5 separate regions of the Homo sapiens genome follow, and regions 2, 3, 4 and 5 are each linked to region 1. Evidence: promoter capture Hi-C in 16 types of primary human blood cells and fetal thymus (Javierre and others, 2016). All regions are on one chromosome and are shown on one strand. Each heading gives the region's core, a stretch centred on a gene start or on the middle of the fragment in contact. The rest is flanking DNA. Distances are from core to core; before and after follow the strand shown. Region 1 holds the start of ATF2 (activating transcription factor 2). Region 2 overlaps PDK1-AS1 (PDK1 and ITGA6 antisense RNA 1). Region 3 overlaps IFT70A (intraflagellar transport 70A). Region 4 overlaps IFT70B (intraflagellar transport 70B). Region 5 overlaps AGPS (alkylglycerone phosphate synthase).

Evidence for each region. The method cuts DNA at HindIII sites, captures the fragments that hold promoters and counts their contacts. A CHiCAGO score of 5 or more calls a contact.
Region 2: a fragment that was not itself captured here is called in contact with the fragment with the promoter of ATF2 in region 1 in 1 of 17 cell types (neutrophils); the score reaches 9.2 in neutrophils.
Region 3: a fragment that was not itself captured here is called in contact with the fragment with the promoter of ATF2 in region 1 in 1 of 17 cell types (total B cells); the score reaches 5.1 in total B cells.
Region 4: a contact is called between a fragment that was not itself captured here and the fragment with the promoter of ATF2 in region 1, in 1 of 17 cell types (total CD8 T cells). The highest score is 6.0, in total CD8 T cells.
Region 5: a fragment that was not itself captured here is called in contact with the fragment with the promoter of ATF2 in region 1 in 1 of 17 cell types (M2 macrophages); the score reaches 5.9 in M2 macrophages.

What each region holds. Positions count from the first base shown.
Region 1 is chr2:175,166,866-175,169,522 of GRCh38, reverse strand. It overlaps ATF2 (activating transcription factor 2), which reads left to right and starts at 1,320. Exons shown (of 14, transcript NM_001880.4): 1 at 1,320-1,473. It overlaps MIR933 (microRNA 933), which reads left to right and starts at 1,814; the gene lies at 1,814-1,890. RefSeq lists a silencer at 1,302-1,371. The HindIII fragment of the contact is 6,773 bases long and covers 1-2,657 here.
Region 2 is chr2:172,550,576-172,553,232 of GRCh38, reverse strand. All of the region lies in intron 1 of PDK1-AS1 (PDK1 and ITGA6 antisense RNA 1), which reads left to right. Among named protein-coding and RNA genes, the nearest start is that of PDK1, 4.2 kb to the left of the region's middle. RefSeq lists a silencer at 118-412 and an enhancer at 118-412. The HindIII fragment of the contact is 1,167 bases long and covers 741-1,907 here.
Region 3 is chr2:177,615,018-177,617,674 of GRCh38, reverse strand. IFT70A (intraflagellar transport 70A) reads left to right here. Exons shown (of 1, transcript NM_152275.4): 1 at 1-2,657. The coding sequence ends at 971. IFT70A-AS1 (IFT70A antisense RNA 1) reads right to left here. Exons shown (of 3, transcript NR_198966.1): 2 at 155-374. Among named protein-coding and RNA genes, the nearest start is that of IFT70A, 2.4 kb to the left of the region's middle. The HindIII fragment of the contact is 801 bases long and covers 939-1,739 here.
Region 4 is chr2:177,549,586-177,552,242 of GRCh38, reverse strand. IFT70B (intraflagellar transport 70B) reads left to right here. Exons shown (of 1, transcript NM_152517.3): 1 at 1-2,657. The coding sequence ends at 1,477. Among named protein-coding and RNA genes, the nearest start is that of IFT70B, 1.9 kb to the left of the region's middle. RefSeq lists an enhancer at 1-447. The HindIII fragment of the contact is 254 bases long and covers 1,191-1,444 here.
Region 5 is chr2:177,398,614-177,401,270 of GRCh38, reverse strand. The region is part of intron 1 of AGPS (alkylglycerone phosphate synthase); the gene reads right to left. Among named protein-coding and RNA genes, the nearest start is that of AGPS, 7.2 kb to the right of the region's middle. The HindIII fragment of the contact is 3,153 bases long and covers 1-2,657 here.

The DNA of each region.
Region 1 (2,657 bases), core at 71-2,570:
CTAATTGACCCAAACTTCTTTTGAAATGTCGTAACATTTGCAGTTCTTTTTCTCACATTAGTTGTTTTGGGAGATGGAGAGAGAAGCATCTATTTAATCAATGCGTTCTAGACCTAACAATTGTGATGTCAATCAAACATTTTGTCCACCATTTCCATCATGAGTAATCTGAACTGTGAGGTTTTGCTGACATAATTAGTGTTACACTACAATGGCACTACTACATTACTGTTACTATATGGGGACGGTACTTTCATTTTAAGTAGGAAAGTGTTAATAATTTGGCTTAATGTTTCTTAACTAAAATTAGTTTTAAAAGAGGACTGAGTTGGCTTATACACATGTATGCGGTCCAGAGACCTACCTGTTAAAATGTCAATGCCATTACAATTTCACTTTTATGCCAGATATCATTCTTGAACTTCAGGCTCATTAACTCTCATACTATCCCCCAAAACCTTTCAACAATTTTGAGAGTGTATTTTATGTTAATATATAAACTAGTTCATAATTTTGTTCCAGACTAGAAATCAGTATTTAATAAATGGAAAAAATAAGACACTGAAAATCTTTTATTGAATAATGTAAATTCTCACAGAGGCCTCTGATCATACTTTTCAACTTGTGCCTATTTATTGAATAACCAACATCCTTACAGTTAATATTAAAATCTTTAAGTTGTGTGGGGTTTTTTGGAGGGGAGGGATGGGCAATTACCAGCAAACTCCGCCTCCCCCAAACCTCACCTAACCCGAAGCTCCCCGCCTCAGGCTCCCGGGGAGCCAAGGGGTGGGCTGAGGAACGCAGCCTACTTTTACCCACCTCCCTACCTAGTGCTGGGAAGTGACGGAAACGGAGACACCCGGCTCCTGGGGCTGGGCTCGGAGGACCCATCCTGCTTTCCCTCTAGCAGCCTTTCCGGAGCTCACCACCTTTCCTCCCCTCACACCGCCAAAGCCCTGCCTAGCCCTTCACCGCCGCCTGCACCCGCGCCCTCCTCCAGCCGACAGCCAATCACAGTCTTCCACAGCTCCGGGTTTACAGAAGTAACGCTCCTTGGGCCCTCTGGTCCCGCCCCCTCCAGAACTGCTTCCCGCCCTTCGGGCTCCTTGTCCAATCATGAGCGCCCGAGTGCTCTTTGATGCCCGTCCCCTCTACCCGCCCTGCCGAAGACCCGCCTTCTTCTCCTTAAGCCTGACGGAATCACCTGACTCGGAGGCGCTCCCTCAGAAGGAAGGCAAGAAGGGGCGTGTGGGTGAAGGGGAGGGGCGCCAGAAGGAAGGTGGGGATGCCGGGAGCGGGGCGAGCGGGCGGGGGTTGTCAGTCCGATCTCGCGAGAGAGGACGGAAGCCTGTGGGAGCCCGTGGCCTTTAAAGTGCCGTTCAGCCTTTTCCTCCAGGGGTGCTTTGTAAACACGGCTGTGCTCAGGGCTCGCGGGTGACCGAAAGGATCATGAACTAGTGACCTGGAAAGGTGAGTAACGATGGGCAGAGGTCAGCAGGGCTGGAGACTGTAGGGATACGGAGAAAGAAGGCGCTAACATGGCGACGTCGCTCAGCACAGTCCCCACCCCCCGTTTCCCATCACCTCGGGTGCTCCTGACGTGCTCCTTAGCCCTTGGGGCGATTGTGGCTGTGCTGCCACCTCGGCGGCCCGCGCGGTGTGGGCTTTGGGAACCTGACTGGCTGGGCCGGACCGTTAGGTAACCAGCGTTCGTTGTTCCGGCCCCTCCCTCTCGCGCGCTTTCCTAAGGCAGAGGAAAAAGGAATAACGGCTCCCTCTTAGACCCCTCCCTCCGAATTATCTTCACCCTACTTGGGTCAGTTCAGAGGTCCTCGGGGCGCGCGTCGAGTCAGCCGTGTGCGCAGGGAGACCTCTCCCACCCACAGTCCTTGGGTTGGGCGGGGAGAGGGCCCACTCTGGTCTCCCCACCCAGTATTCAAGCGATTGAGGACCGTGTATTGGTGATGGTGGCGGGGAGGAGGATCGGGAGGCGCGGCTGAAAATAGAATCAGGGTCCCTGGCTGCGGTGCAGCTTGAAGGAAAGAATGGTGTGGAGAACCTAGGAGCTGGAAGTCTCGGCCTTTTCCGTCCTTTCCGCCACCCTCACAATCCCGCTACCCCCAGCTTTTTCCCGGTGGGGCGGGGCTTAGGTGTGGGTGCAGACTGATTCTGGTATTTTCCCTTATTTTTTTTTTTTTAAATCTCTGGGTGGACAGCAGAGCGTATGTAAAGAAATAATTTGCTTTTCATCAATGCCCTAGGGACCAGGGCCGAAAGGGAGTGTGTGTACGTGTTTTCTATGTTCGCTCGTTTAACCGAACCTAGGAGGAAAAAGAGAGGAGGAGCTGGGAACTATTTTTGTGCCCCTAGGTAGTATAAAATTGGCTTTCTTTAATGGAGAGTCTTAAAACTGGTGAGGCCAAGAGCAAAACTACTGTGAATATCATGGAGTAAAAGAGATTACTCCTGATGGACCTTAGGCATCAGAAATTTTAGTGAAAGAAATGTTTCTCTTAAAATTCAACACCTATTTTAAATAGTGATGTAAAGCATTTCTTTACATGTACCTTCAGGTTTTCTAATGCTTTCCTGGCTATTATTTAACTGGTACTAAGGGATTGACTAATCCCTAAATTATAATGTGAAAGTTTAAA
Region 2 (2,657 bases), core at 75-2,574, 2.6 Mb after region 1:
TGCAGTGAGCCAAGATCCTGCCACTGCATTTCTGCCTGTGTGACAGAGCGAGACCTTGTCTCAAAAAATAAGTAAACTAACAAATTAACTAGAAGATTAGAAATTATAGCTCAGGAGTCATGCAGCCAGAGTCCACAAGATCACCAACCTCCACAATTGCTCCTATAGATAACATTGCTATTATAAAACCTAACATTGGTGTTTGAGTTATTTTTCAAATCCTGAATTCCAGTGGACCAGCTGGAACCACACAGATAAGTAAAATGACTCATCTGGTCTTGTGGCCCCCTCCAGAAACTGACTCAGCATAAGATGACAGCTTCGACTCCCTATAATTTTATTCCTGACCCAACCAATCAGCATTCCCCATTCTATAGCCTGCTGTCTGCCAAACTATAAAAAAACCCTAGCCTCTGAATTTTCAGGAGGTTAATTTGAGTAGTAATAAAACTCATCTTCTGTTTAGCCAGCTCCACATGCACTAAACTCTTTGTCTTGATAAATTGGCTCTATCTGGTCAGCAGGCAAGAAAAACCTATTGGATGGTTACATGAGGACACAGCAAGAAAGCCCTTATGAGACACTGAGTTCCGGCATCTTGATCTTGAACTTCACAGCCTCTAGAACTGTAAGAAAACTAATTTCTGTCATTTATAAATTATCCAGACTGTATTTTGTTACAGCACCACTAACAGACTAAGACACACATGTAGATATAAAGTGTAATCATACTGTAAGCTTCTATAAAAAAATTTTTACATAGCAGACATGAGCCAGCCCCTGTAAATTCACTGAGAATTTGTGATCCATGTTGGACTGATGTGACTGAAAGGAATGGAAAAAGCAATACAAAACAAGCTAGACTGTGTCACCTTGTCCCCAGTACCCTCTGGCTTCATGAGGTTCAGAAGACAAAAGGAAAGAAAAGTCATATTTTTTCCCCCTGCTTCTTTTCTTCCAAGCTATAATTTGTGTTCCTCTAAGTGTGGCCATAGCTTCCTACCCTTGTCCAGTATCCATAGAGATAGTACTAATTTTTCTCTGTTGCTGATTGGGTGCTCACCAGCCCTGGAGGTTTAATTCTGCCCACACTCCTGTAAATAGTCCCTTCATTAATTAATTAATCAATTTCCCTTTTGAGTGTGCTATCATTTCCTGCCCTAGAACCCTTTTTGATATGCTGGAAAGATAATTTTCAAAAAAGGTAAAATAATGACTCTCATGCAGCTATAAAATGAACATGTGTCAAAAATTTTATTTAATACATTAATTAAATGAGGGAACCAGTAAAGATATTATAGCCAGTTCAAAGGAGAAGTGAAAAAACAGGAATTCAGAAAAATTTGCAAAGGCTGTAAAACTGGCTCTTTCCTTGGGAATCAGGGAGGGTTGCCCTTCTACCTGACAGAATTTATTTGCACATGTATAGGTAAGAATTATGTGCGTTGTTACCATTTATCTGCAATTTACAGAGTTGTAAAATAGCTCAAAGACAGTGAATTGGAATCAGATACCCTGAAAAGTTGTGCTCTAAACAATACGTAATATTCCACTGAAGCATAATTTTTCTCCATATACATTTGCCTTCTTTCTTTAAAGGGTACTTTGATTCAGGTAATTACTTGTGTAGTGATATGAGGGCATCCTATTCACCAGGATTTATTTAGCACAAACATAGTTTTTATCTGGAGTAAGTGCTTTGAAATGCTGATGGAGTGGAAGGAGAGATCTGTAGGGAAGGCTCAGAACAGCTTTACAGGAAGCAAGGAGAGGAATTCACTTTGTAGAGCAAAGGGGAAGGGGAGGAGGCAGAAGATTGCAAAGACTGTTCACAATGTGAGCACTCCTTATAACCCAAACCTTCAGTAAAGTTTGCAAAAAAAGAGAGATTATTGGATACTGAAGCTTTTATGTGTTGTGCTTTTGTGAAAATTGGAGGAAAGGATGAATTTTTTTTATGAGAGTTTGTGGCAATGGAGATAGACTTTGCACACAAAGAGTCTGAGTGGTGGTGGGGTGGGGGGTACTATAAATGAGACTATGAGCCTCAAGAATTTACAGACATGGACAGGGAGAACTCTAGACTTTCACAAACTGAGACTGGTAATGTTAAAAGATAAATTTGGGCACATTAAAAGTTTTAAAAATTTATTTGAACTGTTGATTTAAAAAAAAGACTCAAACTCTGTAAAATATTTTAAGAGATTTATTCCGAGCCAAATGTGAGTGACCAAGGCCTGAGGCACAGTCCCAAGAGGTCCTGAAAACATGTGCCCAAGGTGGTCGGGTCATAGCTTGATTGTGTACAGTTTTAGGGGAACAGAAGTTGCAGGCAGACATCACTCAGTACATGTAAAGCGTACACTGCTTTGGTCTGAAAAGGCAGGACAACTTTAAGACGTAATATAGGGGGATTGGGAAACTTGTGGCAGGAGGGGGCTTCCAGGTTATAGGGAGAGTCAAAGATTTTCTGACTGGCAATTGGTTGAAAGAGTTAAGTTACTATCTCAAGACCTAGGATCAATTGAAAGGAGTGTCTGGATTAAGACAAGGGGTTGTGGAGACCAAGATTCTTATTACACAGATAAAGGTCCCACATAGCAGGCTTCAGAGAGAACAGATAGTAAATGTCTCTTATCAGACCTAAAAAGGTGTCA
Region 3 (2,657 bases), core at 90-2,589, 2.4 Mb before region 1:
TGGCAGAAAATGCCCATTTGACGTATAAGTTCCTCACACCCTATCTCTATGACTTCTTAGATGCCCTGATCACTTGCCAGACAGCTCCTGAAGAGGCTTTCATTAAGCTTGATGGGCTAGCAGGGATGCTGACTGAGCAGCTTCGGAGACTCACCAAGCAAGTACAGGAAGCAAGACACAACAGAGATGATGAAGCTATCAAAAAGGCAGTGAATGAATATGATGAAACCATGGAGAAATACATTCCTGTGTTGATGGCTCAGGCAAAAATCTACTGGAATCTTGAAAATTATCCAATGGTGGAAAAGGTCTTCCGCAAATCTGTGGAATTCTGTAACGACCATGATGTGTGGAAGTTGAATGTGGCTCATGTTCTGTTCATGCAGGAAAACAAATACAAAGAAGCCATTGGTTTCTATGAACCCATAGTCAAGAAGCATTATGATAACATCCTGAATGTCAGTGCTATTGTACTGGCTAATCTCTGTGTTTCCTATATTATGACAAGTCAAAATGAAGAAGCAGAGGAGTTGATGAGGAAGATTGAAAAGGAGGAAGAGCAGCTCTCTTATGATGACCCAAATCGGAAAATGTACCATCTCTGCATTGTGAATTTGGTGATAGGAACTCTTTATTGTGCCAAAGGAAACTATGAGTTTGGTATTTCTCGAGTTATCAAAAGCTTGGAGCCTTATAATAAAAAGCTGGGAACAGATACCTGGTATTATGCCAAAAGATGCTTCCTGTCCTTGTTAGAAAACATGTCAAAACACATGATAGTCATTCATGACAGTGTTATTCAAGAATGTGTCCAGTTTTTAGGACACTGTGAACTTTATGGCACAAACATACCTGCTGTTATTGAACAACCCCTCGAAGAAGAAAGAATGCATGTTGGGAAGAATACAGTCACAGATGAGTCCAGACAATTGAAAGCTTTGATTTATGAGATTATAGGATGGAATAAGTAGTTATGACTGATAGTGGCTTTTTTCAAAATGGCTTTCTTACGTACCACACTTTTTTTTATCTGTATTTAGCCTTGGCATCTTTATATTTGTCTTATTTTGAATCTTATCCACTTTGTAAGAACAAGTTTATGTTTGAGCAACTTTTTCATTTAATCCAGAAGGGTAGGGACTATGCAGTGTAAGCTGCATCACTTCTGCTTTCTTCCTACTAGTGACAATCATCTGGTCTTGCCCTCAAGCAACAATTGCTAGAGTAACATCTTTGTATAAGCAAGTAACCCCAGATAGAGTTGACGTTTCAGCTTTGGGCTGTCAAAAGGGTATGTCATGGACCAAAGCACTGTTAGTACGGGTATGTTTGCATTTGGTCACTGATATGTAAATGACTGCTAGCCCACGGCTGGACCACTTCTCAATCAGCAAATAAAGCCATGTCTATTTTGCTATCTCAGCATAGACTATGCTGTCTGATAAATCTAATTCTTAACTCTATTTCTCCAGTTTTTTAGTCCTTTAACTTTCTGGATTGCAACGAAGTCTAGTTTAGACCTCTAAGCCCTTTTAGAAGTACAAGTATAATGGGAATTTCTTTTCTTGGTTCTTTTCAGGTTATGAGGTTTGGTCAGTGACAAAATTTTTTTTCATAATTTGGTTGATTGGTTGCTTCTTAAGTTTTATAATAAACGTTTTTCTTCATGTTCTATTTTTGATTTTACAGAAATGATTTTGCCTCCTTGTGGATACTGACATATATTAAGTGTGGAAGCTTATTAATATTTTTGGTTTTTTAAAAACTGAAATTTTTAATTTTTACTTTTTAATTTTTTAGGAAAAAATAAGCACTGAACTGAGAATGAGAAGAATAAAAGTATGAGTTCCATACCTTCTAATTTTAGGCTGTCAGAAATTCCTTTATTCTTTGGGATTTCACAATCATTTGAACTATCAGAAGCCTTTACAATTACTTTTAGCTGTAACATCCGATTCTGTATAAGCCACATAGAAAAAAGTTGCCTTTCTTTTTTTATGACCTGGATATATAAGCAAATCAGCTAGGAAATATATAATTGTATTTTATATTAATGTTTTCTAGGATTTTGGCTTACAGTAAATGTTAACCCCTATGGTAAGTGATTGTTATTGTTGGATGTTATACTGATTATTAATAAGAAATTTGGATTTTTGCCTTTTTACCTGGAATTTTTGCTTACAGCCGTAGCTATGAATATATATAGGGTGGTCCCCAGTCTCTGTTATGGTTGCGCATAAATTAATAATTTTATAAGTATTTAGAAATGGTATAATTCTCTTAACTTCCTCTTTCAGTTTTTGTACTAATGTTTGTTTTTGTTCGGGAAGAGGAGATTTGCTTTTAATCCTTCCAAAAAATGATGAACCACCGTTCCATTCAGTAGTTTGACAAGCTGTTATAATGTGTATTTTTTCCTCAATTATTCTTGAAATATTTAGAGCCTCTCCTGCTTCTAACATGAAGGCCTTTAGATGCCAGTCTGCCAGAAATCTGGAAACAGAGGAACCGGTGAAGTGAAGATGTAATGGAGATTTAGCTAATGATGTACTTCACAATCCACCTTGGATCTCCTGCATGTCCAAATCTCAGTAGTTAATCAAGTGTCTGCTGCCATTAACAGAACAGAAGTAATGGATAACAGAATGGAAATAAGA
Region 4 (2,657 bases), core at 68-2,567, 2.4 Mb before region 1:
CTCCAAGTTTTTTGCCGCCCTGCAGGCCTCGGGCTACCAGCCTGACCTTTCCTACAACCTGGCTTTGGCCTATTACAGCAGCCGACAGTATGCTTCAGCACTGAAGCATATCGCTGAGATTATTGAGCGTGGCATCCGCCAGCACCCTGAGCTAGGTGTGGGCATGACCACTGAGGGCATTGATGTTCGCAGTGTTGGCAACACCTTAGTCCTCCATCAGACTGCTCTGGTGGAAGCCTTCAACCTTAAGGCAGCTATAGAATACCAACTGAGAAACTATGAGGCAGCTCAAGAAGCCCTCACTGACATGCCACCCAGGGCAGAGGAAGAGTTGGACCCTGTGACCCTACACAACCAGGCACTAATGAACATGGATGCCAGGCCTACAGAAGGGTTTGAAAAGCTACAGTTTTTGCTCCAACAGAATCCCTTTCCTCCAGAGACTTTTGGCAACCTGTTGCTGCTCTACTGTAAATATGAGTATTTTGACCTGGCAGCAGATGTCCTGGCAGAAAATGCCCATTTGATTTATAAGTTCCTCACACCCTATCTCTATGACTTCTTGGACGCTGTGATCACTTGCCAGACAGCTCCTGAAGAGGCTTTCATTAAGCTTGATGGGCTAGCAGGGATGCTGACTGAGGTCCTCCGGAAACTTACCATACAAGTACAGGAAGCAAGACACAATAGAGATGATGAAGCTATCAAAAAGGCAGTGAATGAATATGATGAAACCATGGAGAAATACATTCCTGTGTTGATGGCTCAGGCAAAAATCTACTGGAATCTTGAAAATTATCCAATGGTGGAAAAGATCTTCCGCAAATCTGTGGAATTCTGTAACGACCATGATGTGTGGAAGTTGAATGTGGCTCATGTTCTGTTCATGCAGGAAAACAAATACAAAGAAGCCATTGGTTTCTATGAACCCATAGTCAAGAAGCATTATGATAACATCCTGAATGTCAGTGCTATTGTACTGGCTAATCTCTGTGTTTCCTATATTATGACAAGTCAAAATGAAGAAGCAGAGGAGTTGATGAGGAAGATTGAAAAGGAGGAAGAGCAGCTCTCTTATGATGACCCAGATAAGAAAATGTACCATCTCTGCATTGTGAATTTGGTGATAGGAACTCTTTATTGTGCCAAAGGAAATTATGACTTTGGTATTTCTCGAGTTATCAAAAGCTTGGAACCTTACAACAAAAAGCTGGGAACAGACACCTGGTATTATGCCAAAAGATGCTTCCTGTCCTTGTTAGAAAACATGTCAAAACACACAATCATGCTTCGTGATAGTGTTATTCAAGAATGTGTCCAGTTTCTAGAACACTGTGAACTTCATGGCAGAAACATACCTGCTGTTATTGAACAACCCCTGGAAGAAGAAAGAATGCATGTTGGAAAGAATACAGTCACATATGAGTCTAGGCAGTTAAAAGCTTTGATTTATGAGATTATAGGATGGAATATATAGTAATAGCTGATAGTGGCATTTATCAAATGGCTTTGTTATGTAAATTTGCATCGCTTTATTTACCCTTTGGCATCTTTATATTTGTTACATGTTGAACTTTGTACACTTATGCATTATAAAAAAAAAAGTAGCTAAAACTTTTGCTGTTAAATTTCCCAGAAAGTGACATATTCTAAGAACTTTTACCCCAGGAGTTATGAAAAATTCCAAACTTATGAGGAATGTTTATATCAGAAGTTGTAATACGTTTGTTTCCTTTCCTCTGTTATCTTTTGTGCTTTGACGTATCTTGAGGGGTCTTTGCACAAGGATTACATCATTCAGGGACCAAGCACTATCTCAGTAATAGTTAAGAGTAGTCTTTAAATAATCATTTCAGGGATTGTGTGAGAGTAGTCTCACAATTTACACTCATTAATTTGTAATGCATACTTTTTATATAGACTTTAGGATATTTTGGCAGTGTTTATTCATATGGATATAATTCTTTACCTAACCAAAATTCCTTAGGTTATAAGTGGTTTTAACGTGCAAAAGTCAGTAAAAAATTTTGTTGCCTTAACAAAATTATGGTGCTATAATGTAGAGACAATGAACGATTATCAAAGAACAAATTTCCCTGGTTTTCTTTTGTTCCCTTTAATAATTTAAATATATGAACAAGATACACTGTTACTATTTTCCATGATAACTTTTTAAATATCTCTGTGAGAAATAACAGAGCTATCCTGAGAACTCAGGGGTTTGTTTAAGAGACACAGGTTTTGTTATGTTTGTTGCCCAGGCTAGTATCCAGCTCCTAGGCTTAAGCATACTCCCACTTCAGCTTCCCAAGTAGCTGGGACTACTGGCACAAATCACTGGGTCCAGTTCTCAGTTCTTAATTCCTACCTTTGTGTTTGCAATTTAGGATATGCTGGCTGTACAGTGTTTCCATGTTGTAGCCTCTTGAATAAGGAAAAATCTCAGCCACCAGGTCTGACCAAAAAGGTCAATTCTAAGTTGTAATGTTCATTTCATGTCCGCAACTCCCAAGAGTTATTTGGAGTTCCCACTGGGAACCACATGCATTCTGATCAGGCATTTTATTTTCTGAACCTTACAAGAGCCTTACTATTTGATTTCCCACTCCTCACTCCTCTCTTCCCACAAAAAGTAACTGTCAATCCTAACTTGACCT
Region 5 (2,657 bases), core at 85-2,584, 2.2 Mb before region 1:
ACTATGAGATATGAGAAAGCCCAGATAAATAAGTTCTAGAGAATGAGAAAGAAGATAATGAGTTAGGTTTCCACCTACACCTGTACTGGCCAGCACGGTATATCACTAGCCACATGTGCCTATTTAAATTAAAATTAAACAAAATTTAAAAGTCAGCTCCATAGTGGCTATGATACTGGATAACACAGATTACAGAATATTTCTATCACAGAAAGCTCTACTGGATAGTGTCGACCTACAAAATTTGAGTTGACAGCAAAATATCCACTCCATAGTATATGTGACTAAAGTGATAAGAGAATTCAAGTAGGTGTCATTTTAATATTCCTTAGGCTGGATTCCTATACAGTTAGTTCAAGCACCTTTAGAAAAAATGTAAAACCCAACTAGGTAATCAATCTGAGTTGGAAATGCGAACTTCTGTGATTATAGCAAATTAAATAGTTCACATTACTTGATTCTAAGGTCCTGGGATACCTGAGCATTCCCCTGCTTATAGGATGAGGTCTCTGACACAGCAACTATAAATAGAATTTGGAGAGTCCCACTGAGGTCAACAACAAGAATCTGGTCAGCAACCTGGCCAAATCTCTGATTAGTAATTTCAAACATGCTGGCAAGAACAAATGTTATATGCAATCATATAACAGTTTTCTTAGTGAATGACAAGACGATATCTACCCCTCCGAATCTCACCCAGGAGGCAAAACTCTCTCATCAAAAGTAACTGCAGTTACTGGAATAGTAGCAGTTTTTTTCAATGAGTAAGCGTATTTCAACTACTGAAAGATCCAGAATTAAATATACAAATGCTTAAGAGAACCAAAGACAGATGTTAATGTTTTTAAGAAAACTATACAAAAAATTGATATTTTATATATTTACAAAACTTAAGAGAATCTAGTCTTTAAGAATGACTGACTTGTAACTCAAATTTAAAATGTGTAATTGAGTAATAGAGTTGGACTTATGATTTTAAGCTGAAATCTTATAAGCTCGTAAATAATATGTGAACACTGCAAGGTCACTTTGTTTAAAAATCCAATTTAATTTATTTATAAAAATGATTTAGTACCTGGGAGCATTCTGTTTATTACCTCAAACAATTGATGTACTTAAGAAAAGTAAATATATTAATTCTTAAACACTATTTTAATTACTTTAACCTCTTCCTATGCAGTAATATCTATAAAAACACTAGTTTGATATGCACTTTATATTAAAACAAGTAATTATTCGGACCAAAAGTAACCACCACCTAAATGTTCATCAATAACAGAATGGATAAATTGTGGTATATATCTACCCAATGGAATACTATTCATCGATGAGGATAAACAAAATGTGACTAGATGCAACATGGAGGAATATCACAAACATAATACTCTGAAGGAAAGAAGCCAAACACAAAAAAGTACACACTGTATGATTCCATTTACATGAAGTTCAAACAGGCAAATCTATATGTTAGAAGTCAAGGTAGTGGTTATCCTGGTGGAAGGAGCCACTGGGATGAGCACAAAGAGGGCTTCCTAGAGTACTGGTAATGCTGTTTCTTAATCTAAATACAGATAAAATAGATGTGTTCATTCTGCAAAAGTTAATTATGCTGTAAGTTCTCTCTCTACTGTTTTGGTAGCATGTGTTAGGCTCTACACCTGCAGAGGAGGCCTTCTGTGGTACACTGCCTGTGATGGAGTGTAATTCAGGGTAAATATTAGGTAGTACAGATCTAAGCCACGATCTCCAACCAGCATTATCAGTAAAAAAGCTAATGTTTTTACCTCTCTGTCTGTATCCTGTGTCTTATCTCTCAGTTGATTCTGAGCCCAGATGTTGGGACAAGGATATGACAAAATATCACCCCCAAGACCCAACAAATAAAGAGAACACTAATAGGCAGAGAGCTATTAATACTTTATGCTACAACGGTAGACTCTAGTCATGATCCCTTGATTTGGTTTAGGGTTGAAATTAACATACTAATCGGAATAACAGCAGAAGTTATCTTCTCAATAATAAGGAAATAAAATCAAACGGAGTAATATTTGCTTAGCACTTGCTTTTAAAGTGTTCCATAAAGTATCTCATCTGACTACAACAGCAATCCATTTCTCTGCAGCCTAAAAACAGATCACTTAATTCATTCTCAGGTATTTTTATTAAATGACCACAAGGGTAGATGGCTCTATAGTAACTTCCCAACATAAAAAAGTCTATGTAGAGAAGGTCTGGTCCATCTTAAAATGCAATCTAGAGAAGCATATTAACAAATAACCACAGCGATTAAATCTTCAGTTTCCTGTTCATTCACAGTCCAAAGACAGTTTGCAACTAGGCAGTAAACCCTCCATGACCTATTCTCTTTTCCTCCTTTCTTCTCTGATCTTGGGTCTTCCACATTCTTCCTAATTCCCTTTCATTCCAAACACTGTCTTCTTCCACAAGTCAAATGGCAAAATGCACTCACAAAAGTAAACTGGCTGGTCTACCTTTTTAAACCACCCATTACATTTTCTTATTATGAATTTCATTTTGACAGAATGATGTTTTATAATTTATTAAGTACAACATAAACTAATGCCTTCTTAACTATATGACAAAGTATTTGATCATGATCTATTTAATCACAAAAACTTTGAAACTTAGCATGACAA